2 separate regions of the Homo sapiens genome follow, and region 1 is linked to region 2. Evidence: promoter capture Hi-C in human tissues and cell types (Jung and others, 2019). All regions are on one chromosome and are shown on one strand. Each heading gives the region's core, a stretch centred on a gene start or on the middle of the fragment in contact. The rest is flanking DNA. Distances are from core to core; before and after follow the strand shown.

Region 1 (7,065 bases), core at 2,917-5,416, 250 kb before region 2:
TAGCACTTCCCCCTTTACTCTCTCTCTCTTCCTCCTGCACTTGCCATGTAAGACGTACCTCCTTCTTTGCCTTCTGCTACGATTGTAAGTTTCCTGAGACCTCCCCAGCCATGCTTCCTGTAGATCCTACGGAATTAAACCTAAGTCCATTAAACCTCTTGTCTTATAAATTACCAAGTCTCAGGTAGTTCTTTATAGCAACATGAGAATAGACTAATACAGTTAGTAAAAATAAAGGTATAAATTTTCCTATTAAAGTTCAAAAACACTTGCTCCTGCCATTTTTATCCCCAGACTCAATGCCCAATGGACTTCAGATGAAGAATCTTTTCTCTAAGAGAAGTCCCTTCATCAAAACATGAGGTCAGGAAAGTGAAAGTTCTCCCTAAATATTAAAAATATTACAGCCTCATACAAATTAATGAAAAAAAAAACCCTCAAGAGATGGAGGGGCCAAGGACATGATGAACAAAAAAAAATGATAAAAATTTGAATAAAAAGTCAACTTCAGAACAAAGTTGCAGAAATTTTTTTTTTTGGTCTATTAGGATGCAACATGCACCCACACAAACACAAATTCTGCAAGTGACACTGATATCACTATTCTCACTGCTGCTTAAATTAAAATTTGTACAGTTATTTTGGAAAACAGATCTTAAATTATTCACATTTTGAATCATTAACTTCTTAAACCAACTTAGATGATTGTCATTTAATAGCTACACTTTAAAATTTTTTTCTTATATAACCCGGACTACCCAAATCTTAAAGTACCCACTGGATTATATATAACAACAGCTCCCTCCATCACCAGCAAACCAAATATTTTCCAGTCTCAAAAGCATAAAAATAATGAAATCCACCACATTCCATCATATATGTTTAAACCTCATAAGGACTAATATATGCTGACCTCTCCTTTGAGTCTACTGGACTGTCACAGTATTACAGAGGATGGCAAGCTACCTAGGGAGAGCACACATTTATTTGGGCGTGGGTTTTGGACACGACATTTAGAGGCCTGTATTCAATTTTTGCCTAGAAGGTTTTCTGTGATCACATTTTTACTATTATCTTTTTTTTTCCTTTGGCCTTTCTACCAGTTCATACTTCCTATCAGTCTTTTGTTTTGAATTTGGTATCATTGCCCTATTCCTTTAATACATATTTTTTGAGTACCTATTTTGTGCCAAATATTGTGCTGGATATTAGAGACTCAGTGGTTAATCAAAAGATTTCATGCCTGTCCTTCTGGAGCTTACAGTCTATTGCAAGGGTAATTAAACTACAGCCCATGGGCCAAATTTAGTCTGCCATCTGTTTTTGCACGACCTGCAAGATAAGAATGGTTTTTAAATTTTAAAACATAATAAAAAATGGAAAGAATAATAATATTTTATGACACACGCAAAGTGTATGAAACTCAAATTTTAGTGTCCATTAATAAAGTTTTATTGGAACACAGCCACACTAATTTGTTTATGTATTGTCTACAGCTGATTTTATGCTGCAGTGGCAGAGTCAAGTAGTTGCAACAGAAACCGTATGGCATAAATCTAAAATATTTACTATCTGGCTCTTTACAGAAAAAGTTTGCAGACTCATGATCTAGTGGAGTAGACAGAAAAGAGGCAAGCAAGCAAATAATAAAATAATCACAGATTGTGGTAAGTGATACAAAGGGGGAAAAGGAGGAGAAGATGAAGAATGCTAGCAGCATGTGTGTGGATAGAGTCTGTAAGAGAACGTCTTCAGCTGGAAGTGATGCTTATACTTACACAGAGGTCAAAAGGGTGAGAAGGATCCAGATATGCCAAGAGCAAGGGAAATTCTGCTATGTTCAGAGCAGGGGCAATTTTGTTCCAGGCAATGGAGACGGGGATGGGTGGTGGCAAAGGTGCTGGTGTGGGAAAGATCTTGGTGTGTCAGAGGAACTGAGAATCCATCCTACCTGGAGAGGAGTAAGAATGAAGACTGACCCATAAATACATGAGGAACCACCAAAGGGTTTCAAGCAAAGGAATGGCATGGCCTGATTTGCATTTATCAAAGGTTACTTCATCTGTCCTATGGAGAATAGATAGCAAGAAAAAAAAAAAGAATGTTAGAAAACTATTGCCTTACCTCTCCTTGAAGGTCCATTTCACACCTTGCTCCCATTGACATGTACTACGATGGGCTCCAATAAACCTGTCAAAATGAGGGGCTTCAGAATTTCATAATATTTTGCTATTATTCTTTCAAAAATCAGTTATTAATGAAGTTTAGATGTGTAGAATAGCAACTGATAACATTTTCAAAAAAGCATGTGTTGGATGTCAGATTTCACTCTAATAAGAACTCAATGAAGAACACTTTCTTGCTAAAAATACAGAGTTTTCAAATATGGTGCAAAGAATATAAAAAGTGTTATTAGAAAAGATAACTGGTGATAGCTGCCCTTGCCTCCTGCCTTAGCAGTATAACTTTTCTCTGGAGGGCATAGCCTTTTGTCTTACAAAATGACCTTATAGACCATATTGGGGAGGAAGATGAGGTCCAGAGGTCAACACTGATAGCTAAACATCTATGCATAAGAAGTTAACAGGAATCTGTGGAGAAGATAAGATAGAGGCTGAGAAACCTGGCTGTGGAGACCAGTAAGAAATTTCTGGAGGAGGATTAGCCTGAGGACATAAGTACCCTCATGTGTACTTCTTCTTTTTTATTTTCTGCAAAGCTGCCATATTAAAGCCTTCCATTTTTTAAACCTTCAATGAAAGCCTTATACAAGCATATACTTGGATTGGCAGTTTTCTGGAAGTAATTGGGATGCTGTCTCACAAAGTTATAAACTAGTACAGAAAAGTGACATGTATGGGTGGCCAGGTGATCTATAAAATGAAGTAGTTTGGCAGAGGTAGAAATTCAGAGCCAGGTTGACTAGGAAAAATTTCTGTAAGAAATATAAGAATCCCAAGGAAGACCAAGTTTCTCAACACATGTAATAGGGATTTTGAGGCAATTTCATTTGACAGTTTAAGAATAGTGTGAATCCAGCTTACATATGGATTACATACAATTTTGCTCTGTTTTCATATTAATACCATGATTTACAGAAGGCCAAGCAATGTCATGTCCATTTCAAAAACCGGGAAGAATAGCCAGAGAAAGATTAAGTGACATCCAAGGGCATGGACATTGACACGGATAGAATCACTATTGTTCCTCTGGCCGCTGGGCCCTTGATGAAGCCTGTACTTCTATCCATTTGGTGGATGAGAGCCAAGGTAAAAAAAAAAAAAAAATCAGAAAAGAACACAAGTAAATGTTTATGGAAAAACACAATCCAGCATTTACGGGAAGCAATGGCTTCCTCATGAGTCCTGCCCTTTCTGAATTTTGGGCTTTCCTGAAGTTCCATTTTTAGAGAAACTCACGCTTAGGCCAATTTTTGCTGAACCACTTCCCTACCAATCTGTTTCTGGGTCTCAGACAGCGACTTAGAAAGTGCAAAGCATTCATGTTTCCATAGTGCCTTCCTGTCCCCTAGTACCCATTGAAAAGGCATATCAAAAGAGAAATCAAACAAATTTTGTTTCAAGATCTCAATTGAATTGGGTAACACTTCATTCCATAAAATAGAGTAAGTGTCCCAGTGAGTTGAACAGAGGGGGTTGGTTTTATAGACAGAAAGGGTTGAAGAAAGCAGAAACAAAGATTTAAAAGCAGATTGGTCATTTCTTAGTAAGGCAGGAACAGGGAGACAGAACAATAGAAAGATAACTGATTGGTTAATGCCAGGTTATGCTGGTTACTTTTTGTTGAAAGGATTAAAACAGGTAATTCATTATTGTGACTGTTTGGAAAACGGGCTGTTATCTTTCCCTCCTGATTTCTCAGAAGCTCAGAGAACAACTTAGTTTCAGTTTGGTGACATGGAACTTTAGCATGGGTGACTCCATTTTGATTTTTAGTATGGTCTGTTAGGGCCTAGTACAGAAGCTTAGCCCAAAACGGAGACGGAGTCTAGCTCTGTCGCCAGGCTGGAGTACAGTGGCGCACTCTCGGCTCACTGCAACCTCCACCTCCCAGGTTCAAGCAATTCTCCTGCCTCAGCCTCCCGAGTAGCTGAGATTACAGGCATGCGCCGCTACACCCAGCTAATTTTTGTATTTTTGGTACAGACGGGATTTCATCATGTTGGCCAGAATAGTCTCGATCTCCTGACCTCATAATCCGCCCACCTTGGCCTCCCAAAGTGCTGGGATTACAGGTGTGAGCCATCTCACCCGGCCAACAGTGGCTTCCTATAATTTTTGTTTAAAAATCACCTTAGCCCAAAACAGTGGCTTTTTATAATTTTTGTTTAACAATCATAATCAACAAGAGTTGAACCACCACATTTCCTCTCTACTATGGTTTAAAGTTCCCTGTTCTATCACAAGATTCTGTAAAAGCCCTTCTCTCCTTCCCTGATGTCTTGGATAAAACCCTGATATACCTGGTAGAGATGGGCACAGGCCAGATAGAGGGTGCAAAGCCCTCCTTCCATGGAAATGGGAGTCAATGCATAGATGAGAAATTAGCCTGTGATTCTTTTTTTTTTTCTTTGAGATGATCTTACTCTGTTACCCAGGCTGGAGTCAGTGGCATGATCATAGCTCACTGTAATCTTGAGCTTCTAGGTTCAAGTGATCCTCCTGCTTCAGCCTCCCAAGTAGCTAGGACTATAGACACATGCCACCATACTTGGCTATCTTAAAATTTTTTTGTAGAGGTGGAGTCTCACTATGTTGCCCAGGCTGGTCTTGAACTCTTGAGCACAAGCAGTTCTCCTGCTTTGGCTTGCCAAAGTGCTGAGATTACAGGCATGAACCACTGTGCCCAGCCAGCTTGGGTTTTGTGATCCTGCTTTTCTCCATTTTGCTAGACTCAAAATAATTTTATTCTTTCTTTTCAAATTGCAAGAATGAATGAGATAATCGTCTACAAAGCATCTCGAGTTTCTTGAAGAAAAGTATCATCGGAACATAAAAGTGAATGTGCTAGACAGCTATCAAAGCTCAAAGCAAAGAAAGTCACAGGCTGGGAAGAAATTCACGAAACAGAACTTAACAATTCGAAGTCAAAATCTTGTACAAATGACTAAGTGGCATTTTTTTTGAGGTCAAGACAACCTGTAGAGCCTGCAAGTCCCTGTAAACAATAACAATAGCCAATCCTTGCATAGTGATTAATAGTTTGTAAAACATTTTTATATGCATGGCCTTATTTCTCATACATGAGACACTGCATATGAAGCAGAAACATTGTGAGACAATAGCTCTTCTTACCATCATTTGAAAGGAAGAGACTGCTGGACTCAGCAAGGGTAAATTTTATTCAAAGTCCCTTAGCTATTAAGTGGTAGAATCAGGATCTGAATTCAGATCTCTTGATGCCAAAGTCCATGCCATTGCCACCACTTCTTCAGGGAGCTAAATATCTCCCTCCTCTCTAACTTCCTGTTTTGTCACCTCTTCAGAGAGAAATCAGCATTTTGGATCACAGAACCATTCTTGAGTCACCCACCAGAGCAGAAGTTAGCTATTTCTAAGGAGAATTAATTCTAGTCCCCTAGATGCAAATTATTTCTTCCTCTCAAAGCTTCAAAGTGAAGTATATATTTTAAGTCATCAAATAAAGTTTAAATTTTAAATCACCAAGAAAATCCTCTAAAAAAGAGTTTATTTCAGACAACTACCCCTCAGATATATTGTCATTAGCAGTTTCTTAAATGCCCTTCCTGTAATGGGCATTAGCACTTTATATATGTTCTCTCAGTCACTCTTTCTGGATTTATTTTTTGAGCACCCAAAATGTTTTAAACATGCTTCATAGAATTGCAACAGATACAACAGTGAACAAACAGTCAAACTCAACTCTTAATGGAGAGCAATATGCAAAATAAATAAGTAATATGTCAGGTGGTGATAAGAGCAGTGGACAAACATAAAGTACTCAAGAGGGCTATGAAGTACCAGGGTTGGGAGGTGTAGAAGTGGCAGTGTGATATTGCTCTAAATAATATAGGTGATGAGGGTAGGTCTCTGACTTGAGCAGCTAACCCAAGGACATGGGAGAGAAAACCATGTGGTTATCTGAGGACAGAGCTTTCCAAGGAGAGGGGAGAGAGTGCATATGTCCTTGGGAGACAGTTCTGGGTATATTTGAGGAATATCTAACAGGACAGTGTGACTGGAGCAGGAGGAGCACAAGGAGAGAGAGGTAGAAGATAAGATAGAGAGGAGGTGGGGTGAGAGAGCCAGAAGGCTTGGAGGCTGTTGTAAGAACATGGATTTCCAATGAGTCTTCACAATAAATCGGTCTAATTACTCCTATTTTATAGTCAAAAAGATGAGCAAAGAGAAATTTCATAGTTATTCAAGGCTACTGTGGAGTGGTCAGGGATTTAAATCCATAATTTTTTATTCCAAACTTTGTTTCCTGTTCTCTCTCTATCCTGAGGATCCTTCTGCTTCCATGGTCCTGATTCAAAACCTTAGACAAATAGCTATGTCCACAACATTCACATATCTGGATATACATTTTTACAGAGTAAACAATAAAAAATAATACAGGACACTGTAATGAAAGGCAAATTCCTATCTTTGATAGGCCATCTAATGAGTTGGGATTTATAATCCAGACAATCTAAAGCTTGGCTGTGACAGGAAGAAGAAAGATGAGAGAAAGCTATGGTGAGCCTGGAAATGCAGAGCACGAGGGCATATTGAACAACCGGAGATCAAAGAGGCCAGTGGAAATTCAGCCAAAAGGAAAAGCCAGGCCAATCTCCTGAGCGTGAGACAGAGAAGTTTCAGTTCTGTTATTTGGAAAATCTTCTGAAATGCACATAGTAAAAATGCTGTCCTGTGCTTTGCATCAAGTCCCTTTGACAACAGCTACAGAAGCTGGAAAGATTCAAGCTTCTCTTTCCTGTGTTGCTTCAAAATGCTGGTACAGATTTGGTCAGTGACATGATGCCACCCCATGACCCTGTGATCATATTTTCTGATGAGCCCTAGGGCCTCCGCTCAGACT
Region 2 (7,458 bases), core at 3,722-6,221:
TAAGTCTACATCATTCCCTCCCAATATACAATAGCAGCTACCCCAATCCAGAAAGTGTAAAAGTAACTTAGGAATGAGTTGATTCTAGGGCCATTCTAGGTGCTCTCAATTAAAATCGGGCAAAGTATTATATTCAGAATCTCTCAAAAAGGGATTATATGTTTGAGAAAGCTGCCAGACAGGAGTGGATCCAGGTCGCAAAAAGTGTCACCAGAGTGGCTATGAGTTCCTACACCTTTCAGAAGAACCCAGACTTAATAAGCGTTGGTGAGGATGTGGAGAAGAAATTGGAGCTCTCATACGCTGCTGGTAAGAATGTAAAATGGCACGATTGCTTTGGAAAACAGTTTGGCAGGTCATTAAAAGATTAAACACAAAATTACCGTATAACCCAGCAATTCCACTCCTGAGTATATACCTGAGAGAAATGAAAACATATGTCCACACATATACTTCTACATACATGTTTGTAGCAACACTGTTCATAATAGCCAAAAAGTGGAAACAACTCAAATGTCCATCAACTTGTAAATGGATAAATAATATATGGTAGATGTATACTGTAGAGTATTATCTGGCATTATAAAGAAATGAACTAGTGATACATGCTGCAAAATGGATGAACCTTATGAACCGCTAACATAAAACCTATGCTAAATGAAAGAACCTATTCATGAAAGACCACATATTGAATGATTCTATTCATACGAAATATCCAGAACAGACAAATCCATAGAGACACAAAGTAGATTGATTGTTGCCTAGGGCTAAAGGATGAAGGGAAATGGAGAGCGACTACTGATGTGTTCAGGGTTTCTTGGGTGGTTAAAATATTCTAAAATTGCTTGCGGTGGTGGTTGCATAAACTCTGTGAACATACTAATTTAAGGGATATATTGAATTATATACCTTAAGTGGTGAATTGTATGGTATGTTAATTATATCTCAATACAGCCGAAGAAGGAGGAGGATAAGGAGAGAGAAAAGAAGAATAAGAGGTAGAAGAAAAAGAAGAATCATGGAGACTTTTGAATGCTCTTTGTCAGAATCTCCAAAATATCTCAAGTCCATTATCTACTAGGAGGTAAGATAGCCCAGTGGTGAATTGTGTGGGCGCCAGAATCAAAATTAGTGAACTGAGTTATCTAGGCTTCAGTATCACTACATAACTTCTCGAGAAGTGACACCTGGAATTTGGGTAGAGTGTTCTGCATTATCTGCTATACGGTAATTCTCACTTTAGTGAGTATCAAGTTACCTAAAGGGCTTGTTCAAACACACATTGCCGGGCTCTACTCCTACAGTGTCTGATTCAGTAGGTCTGAGAGGGGCCGGAGGATTTGCATTTCTAACAAGTTCCCAGGTGACGCTGATGCTGTTGGTTTTAGAGCAACACCCCAAAAACTACTTATTGAACATTTAGTTCTTTAAAGTCCCCAGGGTCTATTGAGTAGACTTTTCAAATAACAGCAGAAATGCGTAGCGCAAATTAGTTATATGTGTATGTTAATATACATACTTTATAAGTGCATTATTTGACAATTATTCATAAATGTTATAATTAGTAACTGTAACTTTGATGAAATGATGGAAGGCATTGCAGAATGGGAATCAGAAGACATGGGGTCATATCCTTCCAGTTCTAGAAATTTGGCCCAAAATGTTCTCTCACCACAGTTTCCCCATCTGTGAGAAACTAATTCCAATAATGCCTCACTAACATATAAAGTTATGAGGAAGATAACATAGTAACCTAGTTGAAAACACATGGTCAACTGTAAATGCATTAATCTTATGTTCTCAATGTCTGCGTATGGAAATCATTCTCTATGCGGCCACCAGAATCTCTCTCAAAGGCATCAGCAGTTTCTGGAATCTCCTGAGACACTGGATGAGTTAGGTTGCTTTCAGCTTTAAGTAACAGAAATCTATATTAAAACTGGACCATAGCATGAAGATATTTATTTTTGCACATTAAAGGGAATCCAGCTGAGGTAGTTCTAGCTGTAGTTGAAAGAAATCTGCGGAGAGTGGAGATCAGGCAGAGGCCCTGGAAATTGTTGGAAAACAAATGTATAATAAAGATGAGTGTTTATGATAATCTGCTTTGTCTCTTAGAGCTCTTTAAGGTTTAAAATAGCTCATATCATGTCCAGAATGCAAGATACAACTCATGAGCATCAGGATGATAAACTGAAAAAATTAAAAAAAAAAAAAAACCCTCTAGCATAGAGGTTCTCAACCCTGGCTTCCGGTGAGAAGCCTATAGGGAAGGTTTCAAAGGACGTCATTGTCAGGACCCTGCTCAGAAGCTTCTGATCTGATTGGTCCAGAAATTGCTTAGACTCTGGAGGTTTCCAAAAGCTTTCCAGGTAATCCTTAAATGCTGATAAGGTGGAGAATGATTGCTTCAGCATATCATGAATCAGAGAGATCCTTCTAAGCTAGGAAGAATTCCGATGCCAGCACTGGGCAGTTACTTACGGATGGAAGTGGTGGGAGAAGATGGTGCTAAAAACAAAACTAAGCCTCACATAGCTGTTCAGCCCAGATCCTCTCCCCCTCGCTTCAGTAACCATGATCATCAAAGAAAACTGCATGCCCAACACACACACAAACACACACACACACACACACACACACGAGTTACTTGTTGCTTTATTCTCATGTATGACTGTCTTTCCCTTTCAAGACTATCTTGGTGTTTGATCTAGACTGAATACCGTCTGGTAAATGTGCCACAGGCTAGGCAGATGGTGGGATTAATAGTGTGATTTTTCTCTGGCTCCACATTCCTTTAGGAAGGTGACTCTTAGCAATTGATGTGAATAAGAATCACCTGGAAAATTTTTTAAAATATAAATACCTGAGCACCCCTTGTGAGGTTATGATTTAGCAGGCCTGGAGAAGAGCCACTGTCTACATTTTAACAAACTTCACAGAGGCTGTAGATAGAATTGGTCTATGATCACAATTCTAAGAAACTTTAAGAACAATACTGATGAGAAATGGGAAATACTATGTGCTTAAGAGATGCCCAAAGGTTTCAAAAAATTTGAAAAGCCAAATCATCAACGGATGCATGGAATGGGTAATGAGCACATGAAAAGATGCTCAAAATCATGGATCATTAGAGAAATGAAAATCACAACCACACTGAAATATCACTACAAACCTATTTGAATAGCTAAAATTTTTTAATGGCAATTTTCTGGTAGTGGTGGGCAATGGTATCACCACTTTGGAAATCAGCTAGGTAGTTTCTTGCTTTCTTTTTTTTGTTTTTTTGAGACGGAGTCTCGCTCTGTAGCCCAGGCTGGAGTGCAGTGGCACAATCTCGGCTCACTGCAAGCTCCGCTTCTCGGGTTCACGCCATTCTCCTGTCTCAGCCTCCCGAGTAGCTGGGACTACAGGCGCCCGCCACTAAGCCTGGCTAATTTTTTGTATTTTTAGTAGAGGCGGGGTTTCACCATGTTAGCCAGGATGGTCTCGATCTCCTGACCTCGTGATCCGCCCGCCTCGGCCTCCTAAAGTGCTGGGATTACAAGCATGAGCCACCACACCCGGCCTCAGTAGTTTCTTTTAAAGTTAAACATACATTACCTTGTGAACCAGCAATCTCACTCCTAGGTATTGACCCAAATGAAATAAAAATTTGTTCACACAAAAACCTATACATAGATGTTTATATCAACTTTATAATTACATTTATGTAATTCATTATATAAAATATAATGAATATAAAATTCATTACATAAAAAGTAATGAATTTTCAAAAACTGGAAACAACCCAAATGTCTTTCAACTAGTAAATGTATAAACAATCTGTGGTACATCCATGCTATGGAATATTACTCAACAATAACAAGAAACAAAATACTAACACATACAATGAGATGTTGAATTTTAAAATGGATGAACCTTAAAAGCATTATGCTAAGTGAAAGATGGACATGAAAGGCTACGTGTGGTATGATTCCATTTACTTGACATTCTGGAAAAGGCAAAACCATAGAGACAGAAAGTAAATCAGTGGTTACCAATGGCTGGGTGTTTGGGAAGATTTGACTGCAAAGGGATATAAGGGGATGTTTTGGATTGATGGAACTGTTCTAAGTCTTGATTAGGGTGCTGGCTATGTTACTGTACATTATGTATTTTAAAAGGTGAATTAATTATATGTAAATTATAACTCAATGAAAAGAAAATTCAATGTGAGGGCAAAAATACTGAAGGATAAATAGGGGGTTTATTTAGATTAAACCCATTACATTTTGAGAGCAGAGCACACTTTCTAGACTTGACTGGGTCCAATTTCAGCAGCATGGTAGAATGCTTAAGTGTAGAAATCATATCCAACTTATCTCCCCATGGGCCCATAGTACTTCCTTATGCAACTTATGAGTTCTCAGAGTAGCCCTGCAAACTGGTATACCCGCGCTTATACTCAAGGGTTAAAAAGTGTTGGATTGACAACTTAAAAAAAAAAACAGGCATTCAGCCTTACAGAAATCCTAGATGGCTCTGTTACTTCAGTCTATGATTTCGGTATTTTGAAATCACTGTCTGGGTATTTGTGTGGCCCGGAAGGCTAGTTTGGAGAACAAATACAGGGGTTTGCTAGTAGCGGGTAGGGTAGGACAGAAAGGGGTGAGGTGCTGAAAGGTGAGGGACAAATATGCTACTAATCAGTGTTTTTCAAGTGAATATTTCTACAGGGTAGAGCAGCAGTTGGCTTTTATAATCTAGATACAAAGTTGTTCTTTCTCCAGGGAGCTTCTTAGACTTACATGCTGCTGGTATATTCCTAGAATTCCACCTTAAAACAAGCTGAATGTCCTTATGGCTGACATCTCAGCATGGAAAAGTTTTGCTTAAGCAATGACACACTGCAGTTGGATCCTTCTCACCCACATCTGGAAGCCACATGTCAGCGGCAGCTATATAAAACGGTCAGACCAGCAATCTTAGAGTGACATTGTTTGCCAAAATCCCAGGCAGCATGGACCTCAGTCTTCTCTGGGTACTTCTGCCCCTAGTCACCATGGCCTGGGGCCAGTATGGCGATTATGGATACCCATACCAGCAGTATCATGACTACAGCGATGATGGGTGGGTGAATTTGAACCGGCAAGGCTTCAGCTACCAGTGTCCCCAGGGGCAGGTGATAGTGGCCGTGAGGAGCATCTTCAGCAAGAAGGAAGGTTCTGACAGACAATGGAACTACGCCTGCATGCCCACGCCACAGAGCCTCGGGGAACCCACGGAGTGCTGGTGGGAGGAGATCAACAGGGCTGGCATGGAATGGTAAGGGCCAGTCCCTGCACTGCACTGGGGCTGGGAACATCTCTGCATATCCCTCCTCCTGGGGGCTGCTAGACTCTCAAGGAATATCAGTAACCAAAGCCTGGGCAAATCCCACCCCAAACCTCACCACTGCATGCTCTGGGTGGAGCAGGGCTGCTGCTGAGCGGACTACATGACAGGACAAAAACCTGGGATGGGGAGTGTCTGTGGGAGACAGACTCCTCTGTGGCTCTGTTCCTTCCAGAAGCTGTTCTACCTACTCTCAGTTTGGGCCAGGGGCTGGTGTAGGTCGGCGAGAAGCTTGCTTACCAGACTACCAAAAGATATGTACAGAAACTGAAAGTAATAAACTTTATAGAAATTAAAACTTTCTGTGCCATCGGAATGGCATTTTTCTTTTTTAGAAATTTATTTTTACCATTTTACAAAAGTACTGGCCCACAGTAGTTTGGGAACAAGAAAAATAAACAATTGATCTCTCAGCACGGAGGGTTTGAGAACTATTGATTTAGAGCAAGTGAATGGAAAAGAGGGGACAAGGACATTTAGGCAAAAGAAAGTGGAATTAAATAGCTGTCTACTGCCTTGATTAAATGTGCTCTCTCAATTATGAGTACTGAGGTCCTTCTCTCTGCCTGAATTTAAAGTGGGTTTTATTGCTGGAAAATAGTTTACTAAAGGGTTTTGGAGAGAGGTGCTGTCTTCCCCTGACTGCATTCTGCCTTAAGCAGTGGCATGGAATTTTTTCGAGCTTGTACTTTTTTGTGGGGTGTGATTGTCTCAGCTGGGTCTCAGCCCAGGTGCTTGGTCAGGAGCTCATCCTAGTAGGCACTGACTGCTAGGCTGATTATTTACAACAGCCTAGATGGAGCCAGCACTCTAGGAGGCTTGGAGGAGAGAACGGAGGAGGCAGTCCAGGGAGGAGGAAGCCCACCTGGAGGGCTGCTGCATGTGCTATCTGTAGAGCAACCCAGATGTGTGGCAACAAGTACTTAGTGTAGTGGGGATTGGAGGGGTCAAGCACAAAATCTGGCCAGGTGTGGTGGCTCACGCCTGTAATCCCAAACACTTTGGGAGGCTGGGGAGGGAGGATCACTTGAGATCAAGAGTTCGAGACCAGCCTAGGGAACACAGCCAGACCCTATCTCTACAGAAAAAAAAAAATTAGCCCGGTGTAGTTGCATGCAGCCTGTGGTCCCAGCTACTCAGGAGGCTAAGGTAGGAGGATCACTTGAGCCCAGGGAGTCGAGGCTGCAGTGAGCCATGCTCGCACCACTGTATTCCCTCCTGGGTGGCAGAGCAAGACTCTGCCTCAAAAAAAAAAAAAAAAGAAAATAGAAAAAAGAAAAAGCATAGAACCCTGGGGGACACAACCAGTAGAGAGGTGATGATGGGAAATCCAAGAGGAAGAAACACCGATGGGTGGGGGAGCCAGGAAAGAGAGCGGGCCTTTAAGTAATGACAACAGCTACCATTTATTGAGTGCTTACCCTGAGCAGGCTCCATGCTAAGTGCTTTATGTGGATCATCTCGTGTAATGCTCAAAACAAGGGTATATCCCATTTATAGGTAGACAAACTGCAGTCTAGAGATCCAGTATTTCCTCGGCTAGAAAGCTGGGGTTTGGATCCACAGAGTCTTTGCTTCAAAGAGTTTGTACTTTGCCACAGTGACGGGCTCCTGAGAGGCTGCTGCCTCCACCCAGAGTGGGCTCCCACCCGACAGCTGACTCTGTCAGCAGAGCCAGTGCCACAGGACCAGATTCAGGGCAGTTCTTCCTCCTGGAGAGGGTGGGGACCTGCAAGACCACAGCAGAAGCCCAGCCCCAGAGGGATGATCCCTACTTGGTTACCAGGACTGTGGAGGGGCTCAGCCGGACTGTAGAAGGGGTGGGGAGAGGACTCACACAGGCAGCAGCAGGTGAGGGTGCCGGGGCTGTGGAGGCTGCTTGGACAGCCTTTGTGGGCCATTCTCATCCACCCCCATGGCCTCTGGTGAGCAGATTTAGTTATTCAAAACCCCTTCTGACAGATGCTGATTCAGAGACCAGGCTCACCTTGATTGTTGTCTCCATGACTCCTCACAGCCAGGCCCACTGCCTAATGTGGAGCATGGCAATGACCTAATTACAACTGTCCCTCCAGTCCTCAC

The links. The method cuts DNA at HindIII sites, captures the fragments that hold promoters and counts their contacts. A contact is called where the count stands out against the background at its distance.
Region 1: a fragment that was not itself captured here is called in contact with the fragment with the promoter of DPT in region 2 in 2 of the 25 tissues and cell types used here (dorsolateral prefrontal cortex and hippocampus).

The regions. Positions count from the first base shown.
Region 1 is chr1:168,979,305-168,986,369 of GRCh38, reverse strand. All of the region lies in intron 3 of LINC00970 (long intergenic non-protein coding RNA 970), which reads left to right. Among named protein-coding and RNA genes, the nearest start is that of LINC00970, 100 kb to the left of the region's middle. The HindIII fragment of the contact is 5,300 bases long and covers 1,517-6,816 here.
Region 2 is chr1:168,726,719-168,734,176 of GRCh38, reverse strand. DPT (dermatopontin) reads left to right here and starts at 4,971. Exons shown (of 4, transcript NM_001937.5): 1 at 4,971-5,307. The coding sequence starts at 5,003. The HindIII fragment of the contact is 7,078 bases long and covers 557-7,458 here.